Regions from separate parts of the Homo sapiens genome. Here region 1 is linked to region 2. The links are contacts of gene promoters, found by promoter capture Hi-C in blood cells and fetal thymus (Javierre and others, 2016). All regions are on one chromosome and are shown on one strand. The core of a region is centred on a gene start or on the middle of the fragment in contact, and the rest is flanking DNA. Distances in the headings are between cores, read along the strand shown.

Evidence for each region. Contacts are between HindIII fragments. The CHiCAGO score rates a contact against its expected background, and 5 or more counts as called.
Region 1: a contact is called between a fragment that was not itself captured here and the fragment with the promoter of SNX14 in region 2, in 1 of 17 cell types (total B cells). The highest score is 6.1, in total B cells.

What each region holds. Positions count from the first base shown.
Region 1 is chr6:151,396,072-151,401,574 of GRCh38, forward strand. LOC124901232 (translation initiation factor IF-2-like) reads left to right here. Exons shown (of 3, transcript XM_047419613.1): 3 at 1-5,503. Among named protein-coding and RNA genes, the nearest start is that of ZBTB2, 7.3 kb to the left of the region's middle. The HindIII fragment of the contact is 5,623 bases long and covers 1-4,553 here.
Region 2 is chr6:85,592,439-85,597,923 of GRCh38, forward strand. SNX14 (sorting nexin 14) reads right to left here and starts at 1,420. Exons shown (of 29, transcript NM_153816.6): 1 at 1,141-1,420. The coding sequence starts at 1,280. RefSeq lists enhancers at 1-496, 497-1,080, 1,081-1,664, 1,113-1,282, 1,593-1,712 and a silencer at 1,343-1,562. The HindIII fragment of the contact is 2,215 bases long and covers 683-2,897 here.

The sequences.
Region 1 (5,503 bases), core at 492-2,991, about 66 Mb after region 2:
CTCCCAAAGTGCTGGGATTTCAGGCATGAGCCACCACCCTGGCCTGTTTTTCCATTTTAAAGATGAGTTAGGATTGCACCAAAAGCCATGCTGAAATCAACCTATAAGTAATTATCTTAGTTAATTAAGTCAGTTTTTTTCTCTGAGGGCATCTAGTCACACTTCCTTCTCAGTCTTCAATTTGAAAAAGCAGGCTCAAAGAATTTAAGTAATTAAGCAGCCCAAGGTCATTCAGTCTAGGAAAACCTCACAAATTTTCTCTGACCTTTGTCATGAATAACATGTGAGCTGATAAAGATGAGAAAATTAAGAAGTTACACTGTAGAACTGTTCGCCAGTCTTCTAGTTTGCAGACCTCCATATTATAATACACTTTAAAATTCAGATAATGCTTGGTGTCTAGATTCCTCATACTAGCACCCCTCCTGTTCATTTTTAGAGGAAACAGGAAATGTACTTATTAAATGAATTCAAACTACTTTGAATAGACCATTCCAGATGCTGCCTGTATACTCACTATGAGATGTACTGTGCAAACTAATTCCAATTAGCACATTTTGAGAACCCAAAAGGATGTTGTGACTTAAAGATGATGAGAATTTAAGTGTAAAGAAGACTACACTTCTTTATGCTGTGAAATTTTCATAGAAATTTTGGATCTGGAAGGATTTTGTTCTAAGACTAGTTTTAGCTTAGTGATAAAAGGAATAGGATGACATTGGTAGTGAGCGAAGGCAGGATAAATTTCTAAAGACTTCCTTAAAAATTTTTTTAATCCATTAGGCTTTTCTAAATTATAGGTTGGGATACAATAAGTTATCTTACACCTTTGCTTCACGGAATGGGCTAATGGCTACTTTTTTTTTTTTTTTTTTTTTTTTTTTTGAGATGGAGTCTTACTCCCATCTCACAGGCTGGAGTGTAGTGGCACAATCTTGGCTTACTGCAACCTCCACCTCCCGGGTTCAAGTGATTCTCCTTCCTCAGCCTCCTGAGTAGCTGGGATTATAGGCGTGCACCACCACACCCGGCTAATTTTTGTATTTTTAGTAGAGATGGGGTTTCACCATGTTGGCCAGGCTGGTCTCGAACTCCTGACCTCAGGTGTGCCACCTGCCTTGGCCTCCCAAAGTGCTAGGATTACAGGCATGAGCCACTGCGCCTGGCCGGATAATGGCTACTTAAATCATTTTTCAGTTTTCCCTTACCACTATGATTCCTGACTGTTTCTATTCTGACCTAAAGTACTGTTTGTACACAATTAATTTTGATTACCCTTTTTGCTTGTTACTTGTCTCCCTATATCTTGTATCTCTCACTCTCACTGTAAGCTCCCTGAGGGCAGGTACTTCTTTTTATGTACACTCCTGGTACTCAATTGCTTGCAGAATTGAGTTGAATTTGTAGTTAAAGGATCTAAGATGATCATTTTCCCACTCGAACTGAGTGAAAAAGGTGTTTATTGTTGCAGAAAACATCTGCGTATAGGTATTGGATGCTAGTGGTGCATATATGAATACCTATCTCTGCTCTTCAGGTGGTCACAGTCCACTGGGGGAGAAAAACACAGATACTTAGTACAATTTATTCTATACTGCAGATGTGCAGAGTGCTGTGGGTATGTAGATAACTTTAAGCTGAATCTTGGTCGGTGAGCAGGTGTTCAGAAGATAGACTTAGTGGCCAAGTGCGGTGGCTCACGCCTGTAACCCCAGCACTTTGGGAGGCCGAGGCGGGTGGATCACTTGAGGTAAGGAGATCGAGACCATCCTGGCCAACATGGTGAAACCCCGTCTCTACTAAAAATACAAAAATTAGCTGGGCGTGGTGGTGCATGCCTGTAATCCCAGCTACTCGGGAGGCTGAGGCAGGAGAAGCGTTTGAACCAGGGAGTTGGAGGGTTGCAGTGAGCCGAGATGTTGCCACTGCACTCTAGCCTGGTGACAGAGCGAGGCTCTGTATCAAAAAAAAAAAAAAAAAAAAAGATAGACTTAGTTTTGTGATGTGCTTTGGGGGTGGTGCATTTCTTAGCTTCATTCCTTTACTATACATCTCCCTTGAATTATTTTCCTTTTATCGTTGGTGAGTTACCATCATAATTTAATAAATTGTTTCCTTCTGTGACATGTACATTCTTGTCACATCATTTCTCTAGAACTGTGCTGTCCAGTTCAACTCAGTGTCACACTAGCCATGTGTGCTGAGTAGCCACCTGTGGCTAGAGGCTACCATATTTGGGCAGCACAGATAATATAAAACATTTCTATTATTGGAGAAAGTTCAGTTGGACATCACTGCTCTAGAATCATGTTTTGCTTCTCCCTATTTTCACGTTATCAATAGTGTATTGAGTTCAGAATAGAATTAGGAAACAATAGCCTCCTGATATTGTCATTGGGAGGGATAGAGTGGTTGATATTTATGAACAGAGGGGGGAGAGTGTAGTGTTTGGTAGTGGTTGAGAATATAGCCTTTGGAATCAGATCTGGGTTGGAATTATGGTCCGTCCCTTACACACTGTATGGCTTCGGGCATGTTACTGAACCTCTGAGCCTCAAGTTTTCCTTCTCAAATAGGGTTAATAGTAATTATCTCATAACATTGGGTGAACATAAAAACAGGAGGGGGGCCGTAGCACAGTACCTCAGTAAATGATAAAATCGGTATATTTTTGAAATCATCACTGATTTAAAAAAAAACCTTAGAATTATGTAGTAAAAGTGACTTTTTTTTTTCAGTATACCGTTCTGTGATTTTTAACATAGTATTTATTTGTTGTAATCACCAACACGAGAATATAGGCCAGGTCTATCACTTTATTTTGCTGTCTTTATAGACCTGTGCTGTTTCCACCCCTAACCCCTGGCTGTCACCGATCTGTTGTCCATCACTATAGTTTTACCTTTTCTAGGATGTTACATAAATGGAATTACACAGTATGTCGCCTTTGCACACTGGCTTCCTTTACCCAGCCAGATTGGGTTGAGAGCGATTTGTCCAAGTTGTTACATCTATCAGTCGTTGAAAACTGATCTTTAAAGACATTTTAATTTTGAATCATTATTTCCTAAACGTGAATCTGAATTCCTTAACAGTTCTTCAAGTAGTGTTTGGCTCAGGATTTTTGTGTTTAAAAGTAAAATAAATGGTAAAATATATAGGGAAAAATTACTGCTTCCACCTGATTGGTAAAAACCATGTGTGACATTAACATGCTTTTCTTTAGGGAAGGTTCTTGTTTTTAGTAGTTGATCCATATTAAAGCTCTGTAGAGTTGCCACAAAGTCCAGAGTTGAAAAAGGTGGCTGTTAAAATATCAGTTTCTAAAATGTGGCCGAAGATAGCGTGACCAGTCCTGGTTTGCCCAGGACTTTGCCAGTATTAGCAGTGAAAGTCTGGCCGCTCTCAGGAAACCCCTTGGTCCCAGTCAAACCCAGAATGGGACCAAGCGCCGTGGCTCATTCCTGTAATCCCAGCACTTTGGAAGGCTGAAGTGGGCAGATCACGAGGTCAGGAGTTTGAGAACAGCCTGGCCAAAATGGTGAAACCCCGTCTCTAATAATAGCCTGACATGGTGATGCACGCCTGTAATCCCAGCTGCTTGGGAGGCTGAGGCAGGAGAATCGCTTGAACCCAGGAGGTAGAGCTTGCAGTGAGCCAAGATTGTGCCAATGCACTGCAGCCTGGGTGACAGACTGAGACTGTGTCTGAAAAACAAACAAACAAACAAAACCCCAGAATGGTTGGTCACCCTATCTGAAAAGAGACACACAAAATCAGAGGATTCCAGTTCATCAGGTTTCAGTAGTGAACCATCGGCCAAGTATTTCATCTAATCTTAATTGCCTTTGGGTGCTTAGAGTCAAATCTCTAAGGTAACCAGAACCCAAACCACATGAGGTTTTTTAGATTAAGATCAGCACCTTGAATTTAAGGTTTTGTGGCTAGAGGTTTAGATTTGATTGGAATTACATCGTTAATTTTTGTTAAATTGTTGAATAAGCAACTTCCCAAGCCTTGTGTGTAGAAGCTAGATTAAAAGTCAAGTTTCTACTTAACCAGAATCTCTGTTTTGAGTTTTTAAATTCAACTGGTGATGTCTAAATCTTAAGGATATTGTAAGTTCCTTAACTAGTCTGTTCCATTTTCCTGAGTTTTCACATCACCTCTCTACCTCTTGTGTAGATTTTATTTTTTATTTTGAAACGGATTTTCGCTCTTGTTGCCCAGGCTGGAGTGCAGTGGCACCATCTCGGCTCCGCAACCTCTGCCTCCTGGGTTCAAGCGATTCTCCTCCCTCAGCCTCCTGAGTAGCTGGGTTTACAGGCACATGCCAGCGCACCTGGCTAATTTAGTATTTTTAGTAGAGACGGGGTTTCTCCATGTTGGTCAGGCTGGTCTCAATTTCCGGACCTCAGGTGATTTACCCGCCTCTGCCTCCCAAAGTGCTGGAATTACAGGCATAAGCCACCACGCCCAGCCCTAGATTTCTTTATAGAGCATCTGTCTATAAGCAGATTACTTAGTTTTCCTGATGTCTTCGTTGGAATGTAAGCTTTGTGAAAGCCAGGGGCCCTATGTGTCATCTTTACCACTATGTCTTAGATCTTAGAGCAGCCCATCATAAGTTCTAATAAGTAATTGTGGAATTGGATGAGAAAATGAATATGAGTCAGTTTTACAATGCTGCATGCTTCCCAGATTATTTTAACAGTCTAGGGGATGTGGAAAGATTTTGTTTTAAAAACGTTTAAAAGTCCACGTTTTGTTTGATATTGTTCAGAGGAAGTGAAAATGTGGTCTTTAAAAAATTTTGTTGCCCGGGTGTGGTGACTCACGCCTGTAATCCCAGCACTTTGGGAGGCTGAGGCGGGTGGATCACCTGAGGTCAGGAGTTCAAGACCAGCCTGGCCAACATAGTGAAACCCCGCCTCTACTAAAAATATCAAAAATTAGCTGGGCATGGGGGTGGGCACCTGTAATCCCAGCTGCTCGGGAGGCTGAGGCAGGAGAATCGCTTGAACCCGGGAGGCGGAGGTTGCAGTGAGCGGAGATCGCGCCATTGCACTCCAGCCTGGGCCACAGAGCAAAACTCTGTCTTAAAAAAAAAAAAAAAAGGCTGGGCGCGGTGGCTCACGCCTGTAATCCTAGCACTTTGGGAGGCCGAGGTGGGCAGATCACGAGGTCAGGAGATCGAGACCATCCTGGCTAACACGGTGAAACCCCGTCTCTACTAAAAATACAAAAAATTAGCTGGGTGTGGTGGCAGGCACCTGTAATCCCAGCTACTCGGGAGGCTGAGGCAGGAGAATGGCGTGAACCTGGGAGGCAGGCGGAGCTTGCAGTGAGCCGAGATCGTGCCACTGCACTCCAGCCTGGGTGAAAGTGTGAGACTCTCAAAAAAAAAAATTGTTTCATTAACCCTCTATGAGGGAAGGGAATTTAGAATGGTGACATTAAACCTTCCTTTAAAATGGCAATTCAGAACCAGTGGAGAGAGCTG
Region 2 (5,485 bases), core at 170-2,669:
TTGCGGATGCTGTCAATGAGAACTATCTCAGATTTCTTTCCACCAAAAGCAAATCTGGTGTTAATTTTAATGGAAAAGTCTCCTCTACTACCTATTGCATCGCAACAATTTCTTGAAATAGTAAAATGAAGTAAAACAAGTTTATTTCGGGGGCAGAATCTTCTGATTTCAAAATGTCAATTGAATTTATCAATTTTAACCTTTCGGAATATTTCAGGTTTTTTTGGGGAGGGTGGCATCAAGTCCTCTTAAGAATATTATAGGGATGTGGCCGGGTGCGGTGGCTCACGCCTGTAATCCCAGCACTTCGGGAGGCCGAGGCAGGCGGCTCACGAGGTCAGGAGATCGAGACCATCCTGGCTAAAACGGTGAAACCCCGTCTCTACTAAAAAAAAAAAAAAAAAATACAAAAAAATTAGCGTGGTAGCGTGGTGGCGTGGTGGCGGGCGCCTGTAGCCCCAGCTACTCGGGAGGCTGAGGCAGGAGAATGGCGTGAACCCGGGAGGAGGAGCTTGCGGTGAGCCGAGACCGCACCACTGCACTCCAGCCTGGGTGACAGAGCGAGACTCCGTCTCAAAAATAAAAAATTCTAAGGATGTTGGGACGGGTACCACTTTGCTTTCTGATTTCTGTCCAACAAATCTTTATGATCGTCTGTTTTATTCAACAATACTGCGGGAAAAGCTTCAGCTGCAAGCTGAGGGGGTGGGAGGTGGGGAGATGGAAGAACGCGCTGCAGGTGTGCGGATTCTGCCTAAAATTGCGGCTACGAACTGGACCTTGAACACTCCTCCGTCAGCTGACTTGACTGCCTGTGTACAGTCTCAATTTGAGCCGACACACGGATTTCACTTTTGAAAAGCAACGAAGATGAAGAACTCGTTTTGAGAAATGGATGAGAAAAAGGTAGCTCAGGAGACGAAGCCTCGGGAAAGGAGGCAATCAACCCCACCCCACCGGCCTGTGCTTCCGGCCTCGACGCTCCGCCGTGCTCCCCGAGGCCGCTCCTCTGCGGAGCTCGCTCTCCCCACTGGTCCCCAGTCCCGCAGCTACGCGGCCTCCGCACGGTTAAGCAGCACGGGCCGGGCGTCTGCACCTTCGGAGAAAAGCCGCCGCCCAGGCTCCGCGCTGCGGCGTTACCTGTTAAGAAGCAGGGAGGCGGCGCTGAGACAGAGCAGCAGGAAGCAGAACAGCGGGTACTGGCGGCAGATCTCGCGTCCCACGTCCAGTCGCAGCCGCTGCTTCAGCTTCTGCCCCATCGTCCGCACCCAGGGCACCATCTCCGTAACGGCGAGGCCGAGACTGCGCTACTGGCTGAGGCAGAGGTCAAGGCGACCCCCCATCCACACCTCGCGTCCCCGCCCCACCGACTTGGCGGCGCACACAGACGCCTACCGGCAGTTAGCCGCCGCAGGCTGAGGTCGCGTCCGGCTGGGCCCAGCCCCACGCCCCCCGCCGCGCGTGCGCGGCCGCGGTCCCCAGCCGACCAGAGGAACGGCCGTAGAACGTGCCCGAAGTCGTCACCCAGCGCAAAGCCTCTAGCGTCTCGCCGCTCCGCCCTCCTGGCCGGAGTAGCGCGCAGTCTTCCGTGGAAACTCTGACAACACTGGCGACCGGCCATTTCCGGAAATCAAAGGACAGCCCCAGCACCCAGTAACTGCCTGTATTGCGGAGGAGAGGGAAGAAGGTTGTAGGGAGCCCGGAAGAAACTACAGCACCCCCGTAGCCGCCGGGCGCTGCCTGAGGGGCAACCGGAGCTCGTGGAGCCCGCTGGGAACTGTAGTCTTCGTGACACGAACCCGCAGAGGGATGGAGCGGGTGGTAGCGCTTCCCCGACCCCGCAACGCTCCGCGCCTCACCGTACACTCGGCTCCGGGTGGGAGCAGGTCCGAGCTTTGCGTGACGCCTAAGGGAGAGGGGGATAGGAGGACGCCTTTGAGTCGGTATTTTAAAAGGGGTGTGTTGGGGGCTGGGGGGGTGGCGAGTAAAACAGCCCTAGAATAAAGACTACAACTCATCAGGCCGCCACCCCACCAACAAAATCTCTTTTGCGCGCTCACGGGCAAGGGTAGAGCTCAATTCACGCCGGCTCCGGGAGCCCAACCAAAATCCGAGTGCTTGGAAGAGGCAGGTTGGCAGATTAGGTAAAATCCCTCTTATAGAGTCTCATGGGGTTTTCCCTTTACTAATTCATCACATTTCTAAATTTTTTTTTCTGTATTGTCCGCTACAGTGAGAGATGCAGGAAGACTATTATCGCGAAAATTTACTTAGGCGGTACAGACACTAAGCACTTTCATTTGACCTTCATGCATTCACCCCATGGTGTAGGTACAGTACTATAGTTTCAATCATTATACAGGCAAATTACTGAGACAGAAAGGAACTTAGGATCATAAAACTAACAAAGCCGGAATTTGAACACGTTCTAAAGACAGAGCCTGTGCCTGTCATCTCTCTTTCCTAGGATCTTATCCTTCAAAGTGGGGAAACAAATGTTTTTTAATGATGTATGTAGTTTCATGAATATTTTCCCGTATTACAAAAACATGGATCTTTAATGATGCATTATTATCCTTTATCAGAATGTACCATCCTGTTCCATTATTGCTAACCACTAAAGTCCATTGATATTACCATCCTTGATGATAAACCTATGCACATTTCTAATTATTTAGAATCAACTTTAATACAATTACTGGGTCAAAGGGTAAAAACAAACATTCTTGATACAGTCAAACTGCTTTGTAGAATGGTGGTACCAACTCCACAGTGGTGTATAAAAGTAAACAATTTCACTGATCCTCACGATTAGCTATTATTGTCTAAACATCACAAATACACTTTTCTGTTTGTGACTAAACCATTTAAAAGACTACAGTGTAACATCATTGGAAAGCTTACCATTTTTTAATATTTCTAGGTACATATTTAAACATTTATTAATTTCACTTTGGCAGTTTTTAAGTATCTTTATCTGTTAATACTAAAATAGGTGTATGTTGAGTGGATCTACATGTATCAAGTGCCTCCTATGGACTTGAGTGCTTTACACTTTTGTAAATTACCTTTTAAAAAACTAATCTCATGACAAATAATGTAAGTTATTAACCTGCCTGGTAAATTATGTTGCCTTTTGTTTAAAACTTTTGCTTCCTTTTAAAGCCTTATTTTGAAATTACTCTTTTCACCAAGAGCCAGTATATTTTAAAGACAAAATGTTTTGAGTTCTGTTCAAAACAGACATCACTACAACATCCAATTAAAAGACTTCTTTCCCATCTGATTTCTTAGAGGCAATTAGAATAAGTTAACTGGACAATAGATAATTTAAATTTCCAAATTGCTCTTATGATTAGAAAAGGAAAAAAAATATAATAAACTTCAGCCATAAGGAAATTCTTTATGGCAGAGAATTTCCACACCTAAAGCATGAAACATAATTCAATTTCTGTCACTACGGACCTCATCTAAGGAAATAACCTTTATTTCATTACATGTCTTTAGCCTATGGTCTAGAACCCACCTTTACACGCACAGAGCTCGAAATTTTTTCCCCAACCTTGTTAAGTTCTGAACTTTGGAGAGGTTATATGGAATATCCACAATCAACCAACCCTGGTTCTGAAACTAGCTCTATCTCCTACTAGCAACATGTTAGCAAGATTAACTTGATCTATCTCACTCCTACCTCAACTCTAAAACAGAGCTATTTTCATAAAACAGGTGGGGGGTGGGGGCTAAAATGGGTGGAAAGTTGGAAAGTGCCTCTTAAATATCTCTGTACAATGCTTAAGACAAAATTTTTTTTTCAAATTTTATGGCTTTATGAACATGACAATAATGAGCTAAACCAATTAGCTTTTATTTGGATTACGACAATCTAAAATGAAAATGACATATTAAATACCTGATTTCTAGGAAAACTGAGGTCCAGAAAGGCTGACTGCCTACGCTAAAGTTCTACATCTGCACTGTCCAATACAATAGTCAGTAGCCACATGTGGCCAGGGAGCACTTGAAATGTGGTTTGTTGTGATGTGTAAAGTACCTGTCACATTTCAAAGACTTACCATGAAAACTGTATTAAATGTAAATTAAAATTAGTTTTAAGGCAATTACATATTAAATGTTTTGGAAATAATTGCCTTAAAGTATTTTTACTTTAATGTAGCTAGAAACCTTAAAATTACATATGTAGCTTGCATTATATTTCTACTACACTGTACTGTTATAGACTCTGCTAGCTGTGGAGAGCCAGTACAATTAAATGTGTAAATCTTTTATAAATGCTACAAAGGTCACATATGTGCTAGGTGTACACTGACAAACTATAAAAAGTTAAAAATTTGATAATGCATTTAAAGGGCTCATAGACATTAAACTGCAATCCAGTAATATGTCCATTATTTTAATGAATATATTTATTGAATAGCAAATAAGTGTAAGGCACTGTGCTAGATGTGGTGGCAGATACATTTAGATGCATTTTTTTCTGACCTCCAAAGGCTTACAATCTAGTGAAGCAAACAAGTCACATAAAATGTTATAAAGGGCAGCGGTTTTATACATAAAGACTGTAATCTTTTTTTTTTTTTTTAATGACAGTTAATGGCAAAAGGGAAATTTTTAGCTATAAGGATCTGGAAAGGCCTGTGGGAAATAATGTGAGCGAAGAATAGGACTTATCTCTGTTTTCACTTATAATTTTCAAAAGTCATGAAGTACTAGGCAAAGTTTCCAAAATGCTTCTACTTAATTTAACCTGATTCTCCCCGCCACACCAGCAAAATGCTTTTTATGTTGGTACAGTAAGTTTGCAAGGTAATGATGAATACCTGAATTGCAGAAATTAGGCCTAAACTCTGATGACCCTTAATGTAAACCACATTTTAACGTGTTGAGGGTCATTATTTGTATGGCACAGGTATATCGGGAAGAGGATGGATATACTACCCCTGGGAGCCATTTCAGTCTCTCCCTTACAGATGCCTCCTATCACATGACAGGCATTTTCAAAGCCCTGTTTTTCCCTTGTCTCAAATGATCATGGTTTATATTTCACCTTTTGTGGCATCCCTAATGTTATTTTTACATCCTTAATTTTACATTTCATAGCACCCTCTTCTCCCCCACAACCTATCCCTACATATCAACCTCTTGATAAACCTGTTAAAGAGGCCACTGAACTGCTTTCTTCAAAAAATGTTCCTTTCCTTGGTTTTCAAAACAGGAATTTATTACAATGGAAAATATGTAATTCAAGGAAGAGGAACATTAAGTAATTTTTATGAGTGGAGGGTCTGAGATGTTCAAAATGCAGTTATTTTCACATTCAACCCTCTTTTATTTTTATGGCCATGAGGTAAAACCTCCATTGGGAAAATACAAAGAACTAACAATGTTATAGAGCCAGTGGCTCAACTACAGATACTCCCTGGGTAAAAGCCATGTTTTGATCATAAAATTCTGGATGGTCTCATTA